Linked DNA regions of Homo sapiens: all the other regions are linked to region 3. The links are contacts of gene promoters, found by promoter capture Hi-C in human tissues and cell types (Jung and others, 2019). All regions are on one chromosome and are shown on one strand. The core of a region is centred on a gene start or on the middle of the fragment in contact, and the rest is flanking DNA. Distances in the headings are between cores, read along the strand shown. Region 1 overlaps SPTAN1 (spectrin alpha, non-erythrocytic 1). Region 2 overlaps SPTAN1 (spectrin alpha, non-erythrocytic 1). Region 3 holds the start of LRRC8A (leucine rich repeat containing 8 VRAC subunit A). Region 4 overlaps GLE1 (GLE1 RNA export mediator). Region 5 overlaps SPTAN1 (spectrin alpha, non-erythrocytic 1).

The links. Contacts are between HindIII fragments. The study calls those that stand out against the background at their distance.
Region 1: a contact is called between a fragment that was not itself captured here and the fragment with the promoter of LRRC8A in region 3, in 2 of the 25 tissues and cell types used here (bladder and dorsolateral prefrontal cortex).
Region 2: a fragment that was not itself captured here is called in contact with the fragment with the promoter of LRRC8A in region 3 in 6 of the 25 tissues and cell types used here (H1 embryonic stem cells, aorta, dorsolateral prefrontal cortex and 3 more).
Region 4: a contact is called between a fragment that was not itself captured here and the fragment with the promoter of LRRC8A in region 3, in 4 of the 25 tissues and cell types used here (dorsolateral prefrontal cortex, hippocampus, lymphoblastoid cells and 1 more).
Region 5: a contact is called between a fragment that was not itself captured here and the fragment with the promoter of LRRC8A in region 3, in 1 of the 25 tissues and cell types used here (dorsolateral prefrontal cortex).

Annotation. Positions count from the first base shown.
Region 1 is chr9:128,586,314-128,589,013 of GRCh38, reverse strand. SPTAN1 (spectrin alpha, non-erythrocytic 1) reads right to left here. Exons shown (of 57, transcript NM_001130438.3): 20 at 1,316-1,408; 21 at 71-205. Among named protein-coding and RNA genes, the nearest start is that of SPTAN1, 35 kb to the right of the region's middle. The HindIII fragment of the contact is 3,861 bases long and covers 1-2,700 here.
Region 2 is chr9:128,607,317-128,610,016 of GRCh38, reverse strand. It overlaps SPTAN1 (spectrin alpha, non-erythrocytic 1), which reads right to left. Exons shown (of 57, transcript NM_001130438.3): 32 at 2,314-2,413; 33 at 1,968-2,165; 34 at 1,741-1,887; 35 at 1,040-1,143; 36 at 733-895; 37 at 352-366. Among named protein-coding and RNA genes, the nearest start is that of DYNC2I2, 48 kb to the left of the region's middle. The HindIII fragment of the contact is 5,536 bases long and covers 1-2,700 here.
Region 3 is chr9:128,880,777-128,883,476 of GRCh38, reverse strand. LRRC8A (leucine rich repeat containing 8 VRAC subunit A) reads right to left here and starts at 1,344. Exons shown (of 4, transcript NM_019594.4): 1 at 1,227-1,344. KYAT1-SPOUT1 (KYAT1-SPOUT1 readthrough) reads left to right here and starts at 1,527. Exons shown (of 25, transcript NR_182311.1): 1 at 1,527-1,580. KYAT1 (kynurenine aminotransferase 1) reads left to right here and starts at 1,527. Exons shown (of 13, transcript NM_004059.5): 1 at 1,527-1,580. RefSeq lists a silencer at 998-1,277 and an enhancer at 1,308-1,457. The HindIII fragment of the contact is 17,929 bases long and covers 1-2,700 here.
Region 4 is chr9:128,539,893-128,542,592 of GRCh38, reverse strand. It overlaps GLE1 (GLE1 RNA export mediator), which reads right to left. Exons shown (of 16, transcript NM_001003722.2): 15 at 2,255-2,318; 16 at 305-1,491. The coding sequence ends at 1,423. All of the region lies in intron 2 of LOC101929270 (a long non-coding RNA gene), which reads left to right. Among named protein-coding and RNA genes, the nearest start is that of SPTAN1, 11 kb to the left of the region's middle. The HindIII fragment of the contact is 3,623 bases long and covers 1-2,700 here.
Region 5 is chr9:128,560,558-128,563,257 of GRCh38, reverse strand. All of the region lies in intron 1 of SPTAN1 (spectrin alpha, non-erythrocytic 1), which reads right to left. Among named protein-coding and RNA genes, the nearest start is that of SPTAN1, 9.3 kb to the right of the region's middle. The HindIII fragment of the contact is 5,340 bases long and covers 1-2,700 here.

The sequences.
Region 1 (2,700 bases), core at 34-2,533, 290 kb after region 3:
CAGAAACCCAACTGAGCATACGTGGAGGTGCCAGCGTGGAACAAACACACAGCCACTCTCTGTGCCTTGCCTTGTTGGTGCTGTTGAGTAAGGTAAGGATATCTCCCTTCTTCATGGTGACCTCTCGGGGACTCTTCTCCTGATAGTCGTAGAGAGCCAAGACCAGCTCCTTCCCAGTCTCATCATCCGTGGGGGCCACTTGTTGCTAAAAATCCAAAGGAAGGGCAAACATGGTAAAAACACGTCCGCGCTGAGTCATCTAAGTACAGAGCAGATTCAAATGCCACCAGCTGTACCAAATGTACCAAATATACACTCATGAGAATTCTTCACTGAAGCTACCAATAAAATCTGATCCAAGAACTTTAAATTTTTGGTATCTTTAAAAAAAAAATCTCATTTTGTCTGGGCACGGTGGCTCATACGTGTAATCTCAGCACTTTGGGAGGCTGAGGCAGGCAGATCACCTGAGGTCGGGGGTTCGAGACCAGCCTGACCAACATGGAGAAACCCCATCTCTACTAAAAATACAAAACTAGACAGGCGTGGTGGTGCGTGCCTGTAATCCCAGCTACTCGGGAGGATGAGTCAGGAGAATCACTTGAACCTGGGAGGCGGAGGTTGCGGTGAGCCAAGATCAGGCCAATGCACTTCAACCTGGGCAACAAGAGTGAAACTCCATCTCAAAAAAAAAAAAAAAAAATCTCATTTTAAAGTAGGGCCGGGCACAGTGCTCATACCTATAATCCCAGCACTTTGGGAGGCCAAGGCGGGCAGATCATGAGGTCAGGAATTCAAGACCAGCCCGGCCAACATAGTGAAACCCCATCTCTACTAAAAATACAAAAATTAGCTGGGCGTGGTGGCGGGCGCCAGTAATCCCAGCTACTCAGGAGGCTGAGGCAGGGTAATTGCTTCAACCTGGGAGGCAGAGGTTGCAGTGAGCCAAGATAGTGCCACTGCACTCTAGCAAGACTCCATCTCAAAAAAAAAAAAAAAATTTAGCTGGGCATGGTGGTGAACACCTGTAATCCCACCTACTCAGGAGGCTGAGTCAGGAAAATCGCTTGAACCCAGGAGGCGGAGGTTGCAGTGAGCCGAGGTTGTGCCACTGCACTCCAGCCTAGGCGACGGAGTGAGACTCTGTCTCTAAATAAATAAATAAATAAATAAATCTTATTTTAAACTCTGTAAATCTTTGTGTCACAAGAGTTAATAGCAGAGTCAAATGGGGCCTATGATAGGAACACCTGCTGACAGTATCTGAGTCCTTCAAGGCCTCCCTCCAGTAACCCATAAACTGTTACAAGTTTACCCGGCAGGACTGTGCTTGTTCTCGCAAAGCCTGGATGCTGCTGCCGTAGGCACTGAGATCTGACATCAAAGCTTCGTGTTTCTTCAGTAGAGCCTGAAACCAAAACCACACATGGAGCACTGTGCAGGGGCTGAAGCCTCCCATCCTCCACTGCCTCGCCAACCTGCCATCCTGCCTCAACAGCCTTTCTCAGTTGCACAATGACGTAATCACCTCCTGCCCTTCTTACAGTGCTAATATCATTTTCAAAGTTTTTCAGGATTCTCATCTTTTGGGACAATCATATATATTATGATTATAGCTTACTCATCCTGGTCTAGGCACAGAGGCTTATGCCTGTAATCCCAGCACTTTGGGAGGCTGAGGCAGGCAGACAGCTTGAGCCCAGGAGTTCAAGACCAGCCTGGGCAACATACTGAAACCTCATCTCTACAGAAAATACAAAAATTAGCCAGATGTGATGGTGCGTGCCTGTAGTCCAAGCTACTCAGGGGACTGAGGCAGGAAGACTGCTGAGCACAGGAGGTCAAAGCTGTAGGGAGTCGTGATTGCATCACTGTACTCCAGCCCTAGCGACAGAACGAGCGCGGTGCCTCACGCCTGTAATCCCAGGACTTTGCGAGGCTGAGGCAGGCAGATCACTTGAGGTCAGGAGTTCAAGACCAAACTGGCCAATGTGGTGAAACCCCATCTCTCCTAAAAATACAAAAAAAGTTAGCTGGGCGTGGTGGCGGGCGCCTGTAATCCCAGCTACTTAGGAGGCCAAGGCAGAAGAATCGCTTGAACCCAGGAGGTGGAGGTTGCAGTTATCCGAGATCATGCCACTGCACTCCAACCTGGATGACAGAGTGAGACTCTGTCTCAGAAAAAAAAAAAGAAAAGGAAAAATTCAACTCATTCTAGTTTTTGTGAAGAGTGGTAAGAGCTAGGTACAGGAACTATACCTAGACCTTTATGAATAAAATTTGAGAATTTTAGTCAAAAAACAGATAACCAGTAAAAAACCAAGTACATCTATGTATGTATGTGTGCATGTTGGTATGTGGGTATATGTGCGCACTGGTATGTACATGTGTATGCTGGTATGTTTGTAGGTATGTATATATGTATGTGTGCATGTTGGTATGTTAGTATGTATGTAAGCACACATATGGTTTCACATAGATGAAACAAGAGTGACAAATGTTAACGGTTGAAGGTGAGTGAGAAGTCATCTTCTCTCTCCTTTAGGTATGATTACATTTTCATAATAAAAAGTGAAAAATGGGCCAGAAGGGGTGGTTCATTCCTATCATCCTAGCATTTTGGGAGGCTTTGGCAGGAGGATTGTTTGAGGCCAGGAGTTTGAAACCAGATGGGACAACATAGCGAGACCCTGTCTCTAC
Region 2 (2,700 bases), core at 101-2,600, 270 kb after region 3:
GCCAATGTCTACACAGAAAAAGCTGAAGCTGATGTTCCATCTTCAAAAGGAAGCACTCCTTGAAAGAAAATGGTCAATTACTGCCCCGCAAATCAAACACTGTACAGAATTTGCCTAAGTGATAAACTGGGGGAGAGAAGGGGGAGTAAGGCGTTGCAGGCTAATTACAACAGAAAAAGCCACATCCCACAGGGACACTTGAATGGAGTGTAATGGATGATTAGAAATGAAAAGGATGGATGAAGAGACACCAGCAAACCGTGTGACCACAATAATAACAATAATCTACGCAGAGTAACACAAATACTGGAGCTCATTTAACTACAACTCTTAAAAAAATTAAAAACTTACCAGCAGCTTGGAAAGCTACAAAAACAGATTAAAAGAACAAGAGTTCAGTACACTGATGTGGACACACATATCAGCTATTAAATAGAAACTCATTTTGTCATACTTCCCCCAGGAAGCTCAGCATTTGGGAACAGTAATAGAAGGGGGATTCTATAGACTTTTATTACAGCAGAAATAGTTTTAATGGAGACAAATGAGGAAGGCAACTTTTAAATGGCTCTGAAACTTGACTAGGGCTTTCCCACTGGCTGGGCTTACTGAAATATTTCTCACTGACTTCCCATGGGTGCAAGGAGATTGTTTTATAAATGCTTTATTTAACAAAATCTACTCAATAACATAAGGCTACATCAAGACCAACACCCAGTCACTTCAGCTTACCTGGATGTTGGTGGGATCCTTGTACGACTCATCACTCGCTGTTTGCAATTTTTCACTGATCCAAGCCTCAATCTCATCCACATCCCGGCTGAACTGTTGGAGGGTTTGAGATTCTCCTAGCTTTGACCTTTTCTCAATCATCTGGGCTTTCAGACGTCGCCACCTGAAAGAGTGAAACCATGAGATCCAACATGAGCATATCTTACCGTGGAGAAGGAAGTGGGGAGACAGAACAGGCCTGGGCCTTCGTATGAGGGGATGCATCCTCTCAGGGCTGGTGACTATGTCAGTGCCACAGGACACCCACCTGTCCAAGACCTCATTGCGCCGGCTAGAAATGTCTCCCTTGGCATAATGGCCGGCAGCGATGAGCTGGTCGGCAAAGGCCTGCAGAGCAGCAATCTTCTCTTCCTGTCAGAAAACAAAGGCATGAGATCAAGGTGGGCCTGTGGCTGGGCCCTGCCTGGACTGCCAGTCTTGAGAAAAGGATAGTTATTTTGGGTGACTGAGAACTAGCTGGTGGCAGGATCAGAATACACTGACACTTTAGAAGCAAGAGTGTAAAATGCCAAAAGAAAGCTTGATTTCATTCATTACTAGAGTAGAGTTTAACTCAAGAAGTCTCCAGGTCACTCAGGTGGGGCAGGTGTTAGAATATCAGAACAGAACAAAATTAAGCCTGATAATAGGAAAATGCTGTCAGATTTACAGCAAAGTGACGTATAAATCAAACAGTTTTACATCTTCCTTGTTGTTTGTTCATTATTCCCTTACCTACCCACACATTTGTTTTCCATCCCTTTGATAATATTTTTTTTTCCTGTGGCACCCCCATTATTAAAATCTCAGAAATACCAGAATCTATAAAGTTTTAAAGATTATTTATGTACATATTTTTCTTAGACAACGCAGGTATTCCTTGGAGATATAACAGTGACTATATAAGCCAAGAAACAGATGTCAATCAGGAAAAATCCAGACTCCAACTCCATGGTCCAGAGGCCTCACCTGGACGTTAATCGCTTTGTCAAAGTCTTCATGTTTTTTGATCAGAGCCTCTACGCTGTCCAGTGAGTCTCCTTTGTCTTCGGTATTCAAGAAGGCCTCCCGGGCAGCCATCCAGTTCTCAGCTTGCTCACAGTCCCGATGGAACAGCTAAAGAGGGCAAGAGGCAGGTGAGAAAATGAGGCCCTTCAGCAAGGAAACACTTGGTCAGAAACCAGGAGCACACACACCTGCAGTTCAAGGCACTGATCCAGCATCATCCTGCGCTGAACCCAGGCCTTCTCCAGGTCTGCACGCTCCTGGTCAAGAATATCAAGTTTCTGCTTGATCTCAGGGCTGGCATAGTGTCCGTGAGCCAACAGCTGCTGTCCAAACTGCTCAAATGCCTGGAAAGTGCCAGCCCTGGCATCGATTTCTGTCCGGTGTTCCTGCCAAAAGGAGGGAAGGGATTAGGTAACTGGCAGCAGATGCCCACTCTGACGTCAACCACCGACTCACCACAAAGGGTGGGAATGAGGCCTCTAGGGCCCTGCAGAGCAGCCACGTCTTTGCTACTCAGCAGGCAGGTCCACCCACCTGGTGTCGCTCCAGCAATGCCTCAGCTCCGGTGACATCCTTGGCTAGCTCATCTGAGGACACCAACCCCCGTATTCCATTGATCCAAGACATGAGGTCCCTGGAAACCAGCACCCCAGAAAAATAGCTATTATATTACCTGGTAAGGAGATCTTCTGCCCAGGAAAACAGAGAATGACATAATTCTTGCCTCAGAAAGTTATCTTGGGTTAATCTGATCTACTGAATGAGGCTAGGTCTTTGGGCAAAGTGTTAAAAAACTTCTTGTTATTTTTTTAAAAGTCCGAATTTCTCAGAGGAAAAGTCAGTAGGCTTATAATTAAGATCTTTTCACCCTCCAGAATAACAAGTTCTAGCTACAATTAAGTCTTTGATAGCTTCAAATGA
Region 3 (2,700 bases), core at 95-2,594:
TGAGACTGAGCAATCAGCACTGCCCAGTCTCTCTGAACAAACTCCCACTCCCACATCCCCTCCACAGGAAGTATCAGCAACAGCCGATCTCCTCCCGCTTCTTACAGCCTGTCTGTCTGCCAGGTTGTCTGCTCCAAAGGGCAGAATACAGTTTGGCAGGGGTTAAGAGTACTACTAACAGAAGAGGTGGAAGAGGTCCTTGGGAACTTCGGGCTCCCCCAGTTCCCTTCCTCTTACCAGGTGCTCTCCCTCCACACCTCATTCTCAAAAGGCTTCCTGAGGTAGGGCAGGGGAAGAGGAGTCAGTGGAAGTGTGGCTCACCCAGGAACCGCCCACCCTTCCAGCCAAGTCTCCATCAGGAGGCGGCTACCAGACAACCCCCGACCCATCCCTCCTTCCCAAAAAAGGCAACAATCGCAACAGCTGAGAACCGGCAGACCTCGGTTCACCCCGGTCCAGATCAAGGGGAAGAAGCAGTCAGCGAAAGCAGCAGAATCATCATGAACTCCATGACCCCAGCTATGCCCCTTCAGCCTGGGAGCTCAGTTTGCTGGGTATCCAGCTCACCTAGGGCTGCACCAGGCCTGGACCTCACTGGATCTCGCCTCGCCCTCGGGCCCACCTGAATGCACAGGACTGGGACAGGGTCTGGGTTCTTAGATTCCGGACCGGTCTTCCCAAATATCCCATCCCAGAAAGGCCCCAAGAGCCTAGCCGGGGATCCTGCCCCCAAGTCAGGGCACTGCCCCCATCGGAACGATAGGAAGGAGGGGTGCAAGGGAAGAGAAGGGGACCAGGAACTCAGGAGAAGACAGCTAAGGAAATCTTTGAAAAAGAAATGGCAAGGAGAGAGCCCAGAGGTGGAACCTCTAGGAACGGGAGAGTGTGTGTGGAGGGGTGAGGATCTGGGGGGACCCAGGGGATGACAAGGGGACATGGGGGAGCCGAGGCGGAAACTCCTGGTTTCTGAAGCACAAGGAGGCACAGGGGTGCCTGGGAGGGGGCTCGCGCGCCGCGGAGCCGGCGAGAAGGTGGTGCCCCGGAGACTCCGGGCACTGGGGAGCCCAGAGGTAGGCCGAACACCGCGGGAGGTCCCCAGGGGGCCGGCCCGGAGACAGAGCCCCAGATGCCCCGGGCGCCCCGGGCCGGGCAGCTGGCCGAGGGCGTGTGTAAGTGGGTTTCGAGAGGTGACAGCTCGCGCCCCTTTCCCCACCCCGTCCACTCACCTGGGCTCGCCGCGCCCGGCCGCCCGGCAGGCAGCCCCAGGCCCCGGCCGCTCCGTCCCGCCGCCGGCCGCAGCGCTGCTCCGGCGCCTCCTTTTGTTTGTCCCTCACTGCACCACTCAGCCTCCTCCGCCCCGGAAGTGACGTCACCGCCGGGCGCGAACGCGGCGGCCAGGGCGTCGCCATCTTTATGAGGAGAATTCTAGCGGCGCTTTCTCCCGCTCTCGCCTCCGCGCTAGCGCCCTGCTGCTTCGGGGCGGAAGTAGCGGAGCCGGGCTCGGCCCCCTTAAAGGGACAGGGACTGCTGCAACCTACGGGGTGTACTTGGGAACGAGGGGTGAAGCGGCCCAGGTGAGGGTGAGTAGCTGTGTCGGAGCGCCACTTCCCCAAGGTCAGGTGCCGAGGCTGGGAGGGTCGGCTAACGGTTCCGAGCTTGGTTGTGCTAGAGTGCTTAATGAGTTTGATGCTACTAAGTATAACGGAGTGGCTGCACAGAATGATTGAGCCGCCCGCGGGAATCAACTGCGCGTGCTGCTCGCTGATTCTCGCTCGGACACTGGGGCTGGTCCTGTCTGCACCCAAATCCCCCTCCCACGACCGCGCCGGTGGAGATGATACCCGAGACAACAGAATTCTGGACAGATCTGGGGTTGGAATTGGGTCCCCAGACTCCAACTCTGCAGCTCCATAAATCCCGCTGGGTCCTCGCAAATTCCCTGGCTGATAACAGTACCGGCAACCAAATTAAAAAATAATCCATACAGTGGAATACTGTGCAGCCATTAAGACGAACAATGTTTAATATGCACTAATGTAGGGTGACTTCTAAGATACCTTAGGTTAAAAAAGGAAACAACAGTAAAAACAGCGTTGGGCCGGTTGCGGTGGCTCACGTCTGTAATCCCAGCACTTTGGGAGGCCGAGGCGGGCGGATCACGAGGTCAGGAGATCGAGACCATCCTGGCTAACTTGGTGAAACCTCATCTCTACTAAAAATACAAAAAAATCAGCCGGGCGTGGTGGTGGGCGCCTGTAGTCCCAGCTACTCTGGAGGCTGAGGCAGGAGAATGGCATGAACTCGGGAGGTGGAGCTTGCAGTGAGCCGAGATCGCGCCGCTGCACTCCAGCCTGGGCGACAGAGCGAGACTCCGTCTAAAAAAAGAAAAAACAGCGTTGATGGGTGCTATCCATCTTTGCGTAGAAGGACGCCTGAGGGTGGGCGTATCTGCGGGTGTGCGCGCCAGCTGTCTGATAAGATGCACAAGAAGTTGTTAATTGCGGTTGTCTCCGACAGAATTGGGGTCTTGGGTACCTGGGCCAGGGCGAGAAATTTACTACCATGTGCACAGATAGATAATTAAAAATAAGATGATGAAGATAGTCGTGGCTCCCATCCATCACGTGTTAAGCCAATGCCTAGTTTCACTTCTGTTGGGAGGTCTTATTTTTCCCTTTTAATAGAAGAGAAAAGAACCTT
Region 4 (2,700 bases), core at 34-2,533, 340 kb after region 3:
CTCCCACCTCAGCCTCCCAAAGTGTTGGGACTGCAGGCATGAGCCACTAAGCACGGCCTATTGTGTCTTTCAAAGATTTTAATACACTTTCACATCTCTTGCTAGATAAAATAGGGTCAGTTATTAGTACATAATTCCAAAAAAGGAAATGACAGAAAAAGAAGTAATATTCCCAAGGTGTAGGTCAAGAAGACCAAAAGGAATAAATGCATACCGCTCTATACCTGGACTTGTATACTATCATGATTTACATAGCTCAAGGCAGAGGAAATTGATCATATTGAACCAATATATCAGCAATGGGTTTTTCAAAAAACCAAGCTTTATTATTAATTTTTTTTGGCACCTTAATTAACAATTCATAGAATGGGTCACTTCAGGCCACTCAAGAGTACCAGTGAACACTCCCCCACAAACACACCCTGCCACAAGACATTTAGCACAGAGGAACAGATCCATGGCCACTGCCTCTGCAGTATCAAAGAGAATTAGTCTTTCCACAAAACAAATTTTAACAGCCAATCTCTGGATTTCTGTAGTGGCTTTAGTCAGGCATATTTATCATCATATTAGCAGTGTTCAGTTCCTGCCCAACATCTTTATTTAATCCCAATTCAATGCTTATGGATGCTCAGCTCATGTTTAATGTTGCAAGCCCCATCTTAGCCCATCTTAATTCAAACAGAAAAGAAACAAAACAAAACAAAAACAAAAAAGGTACCTGCCTGGTTCATGGATCCCTAGCCATCCAGGGACCAAATTCCAAATTAGGATGACAAAGAGTTTCCCTTAGTTCAAAATGACATGTGTTTCCAGTCCTAATCCCAGATGTTAATCTAGCCATAGTGTCACCTGAGCCTTAGTCCATGTGTATATCACATACTTCCTCTAGCTTTAGAATGACTTCACAAGCTGAGAAAGGCAAAACAACCATAACCCAGACTTGCATGTAAGTATCTGGCCTCAACTATTAAATAATACTTAAAAGGGAACCTTATGAGCCTTAGCTCTTTCTGGAAATTCATCTGAACAGGGGTGAGGGTGGGTAGGTGGGTGCAAATGGTGGGCTCCCTCCAGCTCAGAGTGCATTTGTTAAGGTATTGCCAACTTTCTGAAAGACACTAGAGACAAGGGAGGAGACCAAGTGCTAAAGACCTTTTATCACTTTTGCAAAAAACAAGAAAGGCCAACTCCATTTATTTTATCACGTGGATCTCTTAAGGAACTACCAAATCTACTAAGGGACCTCCAAGAATTTTGTGACCCATGAAAATCTCCTCTCCTAGTCACAAGGCATAAATACATAAAAATACATAATGGCAAATTTCTGAATCTGACATGACTTCTCCCAAATACAGCTGTCTTCAGTTCCTTTATTATTGCCTCTTTGCAGCAGCGGTGATGGTGGGTGATGGAGTGACATCAGGAGCGCCAGAAGGAGGAAGTCAGAAAGCCCTTGGGGACAGGAATGTCCTTGTGTTGCAAACATTTCTGGTCAGGGAAAGATGAAGAAAACAGAATGAGTTTCTGATAACAGTGTTCCCAACACTTAATGGTTAAAAGAAGCTTTGAGGAACACCATATTTCAGCCCTATGGAACAGTGAACAAAAAGGAAAAAGCCAGTAAGACTGATGGTTCTGTATAAGATGTCCACTTCTGCATGATCTGCTCCAGACAACAAATGAAATGCTCTTATTATTCCTGTCCCACTCTTGTCTCCCTACAGGCTAACCTCATCTTTCACAATCACTATTTTCACAATCGAGCTTTGAGAAGCTGAAAAGTCAGCAGGCTATCTTGGCAAACCCACTATAGTGTTCTAAATTCTTTGTCAAAATTAACCTTTTACAATCTCTTGGCACTTGGAAGTAGGGGAAGAGTCCAACTGAAAGTGCAGTTTGATCTCATGGAGAAAAGTGATGACACTTACCAATTCCCCAGACCTGAGACTAAGAAAATAACCTTGGCCAACATGCAAAAAAAATATATATTAATGAGAGGAGATACACTAAATATATTTTACTCATCTCAGCATAGCTTTCTCACAGGCAGTATAGAGAATGATACATATAAAGAAGAGGAAATGGCAGCCCTTACTCCAAAGGTTAAGAGGGAATTAGGAACAAAAAGAAGGGTTTGGAAGAACTAAGGAAGAGAGTGCAATCAGAGCATCGGAAGGTCCAAGACTTGTCAGACATAGGTGCATTCCAGCCCAACAACAGTGTGGGGCATGTTGGTCTAAGGGCATCTTACCTCCAAGAACTGCTTGAGGCGTATGAAGGAGCCCATCTGTCCTGAGCTTGTGATAGCTTCAATTCTACAGGGAGAGAAAGACACATGAATCACACCTATGATATACACCTATCTTTTGGAAACGGTGTCTCACTCTGTCACCTAGGCTGGAGTGCAGCGCGGTGGTGCGATCATAGCTCACCGAGGCCTTGAACTCTTGGGCTCAAGCGATCCTCCTGTCTCAGCTTCCCTAGTAGCTGGGACTATAGATGCATGCCATCATGCCTGGCTAATTTTTTTTTTGTAGAGATGGGGTCTTGCTATATTGCCCAGGCTGGTTTTGAACACCTGGGCTCAAGTGATCCTCCTCCTGTGGCCTCCCAAAGAGCTGCAATTATAGGCATAATTATAGGCATAAGCCACTGTGCTCAGCCCCTAATTTGTGTTTTTGTTTGGGCAATGATATT
Region 5 (2,700 bases), core at 146-2,645, 320 kb after region 3:
TTTTTGTACAGGTGTGGTTTCACCATGTTGCCCAGGCTAGTCTCGAACTCCTGGACTCAAGTGATACACATGCCTCAGTCTCCCAAAGTGCTGGGATTACAAGCATGAGCCACTGCACTGGCCTATTTTCTATTCTTAAAACAGACGTCAAGTCCTTAAAACCAAAAACTGGGAGTGACCTTGAAAAGCTTAATGTCTGCTCAGAGCAGTTTTTGTAATAAAATATATACATATATATATATATATATATATATATATATATATACACATACATGTATATATATATTTTTTTTTAGACGGAGTCTCACTCTGTCGCCCAGGCTGGAGTGCAGTGGCGTGATCTCGGCTCACTGCAAGCTCCACCTCCTGGGTTCACGCCATTCTCCTGCCTCAGCCTCCTGAGTAGCTGGGACCACAGGCGCCTGCCATCACGCCCGGCTAATATTTTCTATTTTTTAGTAGAGATGGCGTTTCACCGTGCTAGCCAGGATGGTCTCGATCTCCTGACCTCGTGATCCGCCCACCTTGGCCTCCCAAAGTTTTGTAATATTTAATGATAACAGGCAGTCATAGTTTACACTGCTGCCCTAAGTCTGTCAGCCTATTTTGGAGAAGGCTGATTTCTGATGAGGACCCTGACAAGGATCACTATAATCACATTTACTACAAGGTAAACAAGACTTCACTCAGTCACCTTCCAGTTGTCTCCTCCAGCCGTATCTCATGTCAAGCTCCCTCACCAACACCAATTACAGGTCCTGGACAGGGTCCATTTGAAAGCTCAAAAAGTTCCCTTTCCCAGGAGTGCACTCTCCTCTCCCACTCCCAACCCTACCATCTAATATCATACAGATCTCGGCTGGGCGCGGTGGCTCACGCCTGTAATCCCAGCACTTTGGGAAGCCGAGGCAGGTGGATCACAAGGTCATGAGCTCCAGACCAGCCTGGCCAACATGGTGAAACCACATCTCTACTAAAAATACAAAAATTAGCCGGGTGTGGTGGCACGCGCCTGTAGCCCCAGCTACTCGGGAGGCTGAGGCAGAAGAATCGCTTGAACCTGAGAGGCGGAGGTTGTGATGAGCCCAGATCGCGTCACTGCACTCCAGCCTGTCAAAAAAATAAAAAATATAAAAAACAAATCATACAGATCTCTGAGTCCAAAGCAAATGCCTCGTCCTCTATGAAGTCTTTCTGAATCAGAAGTCTCCACTCCCTGACCACCCACCTCTATCATTCATCTTATAACACTGCCACATTCTGCCATGAAATTATTGTGTTCTCCCTACCACATTCATAAGTCCTTTAAGGAACTCTAAAGAAGACCATATTTTACTCTTACTCTCTGGGCACAGAACTCAGGACTTGGCACATATTATAGATCCAATTATATTCAGAGCTTGGAAATAAAGAAACTGCCATCGTTTTATAATTAAGTAGTTGGGAGACAGGTAATTTAGTAAGCAAGTTGCAAAGGCCAGGATGACCTGGGATCCTCCGGTTCCCAGAATATGGCACAATAGACACAGTGATTCTTAACATGATTAGAGTTGACATATTGACATATTCTTTTTTTTTTTTTTTTTTTTTTTTTTGAGACGGAGTCTCGCTCTGTTGCCCAGGCTGGAGTGCAGTGGTGCAATTTCGGCTCACTGCAAGCTCCGCCTCCCCGGTTCATGCCATTCTCCTGCCTCAGCCTCCCGACTAGCTGGGACTACAAGCATCCACCACCTCGCCCGGCTAATTTTTTGTATTTTTAGCAGAGATGGGGTTTCACCATATTAGCCAGGATGGTCTCGATCTCTTGACCTCGTGATCTGCCTGCCTCGGCCTCCAAAAGAGCTGGGATTACAGGCGTGAGCCACCGCGCCTGGCCTTTTTTTTTTTGAGATGGAGTCTTGCTCTGTCGCCAGGCTGGATTGCAGTGGTGCGATCTTGACTCACTGCAACCTCCGCCTCCAGGGTCAAGCAATTCTCCTGCCTCAGCCTCCCGAGTAGCTGGGACTACAATCACAAACCACCACGCCCAGCTAATTTTTGTATTTCTCTTCTTTTTAAGAGACAGGCTTTCACTATGTTGGCCAGGATGATCTTGATCTCGACCTTGTGGTCCGCCCGCCTCGGCCTCCCAAAGTGCTGGGATTACAGGCGTGAACCACCGTGCCTGGCCGACATATTATTTATTGATGGCTGTTTGGTTATTTATTAGTTCCTTTCACTTCTTTTTTTTTTTTTTTTTTTTGAGATGGGGTCTTGCTCTGTTGCCCAGGCTGGAGTGCAGTGATGCTATCTGGGTTCACAGCAACATCCGCCTCCCAGGTTCAAGTGACTCTCCTGCCTCAGCCTCCCCAGTAGCTGGGATTACAGGCACCCGCCACCACACGCGACTAATTTTTGTACTTTTGTAGAGATTGGGTTTCACCATATTGGCCAGACTGGTCTCGAACTGACCTCAGGTGATCCACCCACCTCAGCCTCCCAAAGTGCTGGGATTACAGACGTGAGCCACAGCACCCGGCCTTCACTCCCTCTTTATTAGTTCCTTTTCACATCTGCACTTTGGAGTGAAAAAACAGTGAGGCAGACACAGTGGCTCACACCTGTAATCCCAATACTTTGGGAGGCGAGGCGGGCAGATCACCTGAGGTCAGGAGTTTGAGAACAGCCTGGCCAACGTGATAAAATTCTGTCTCTACTAAA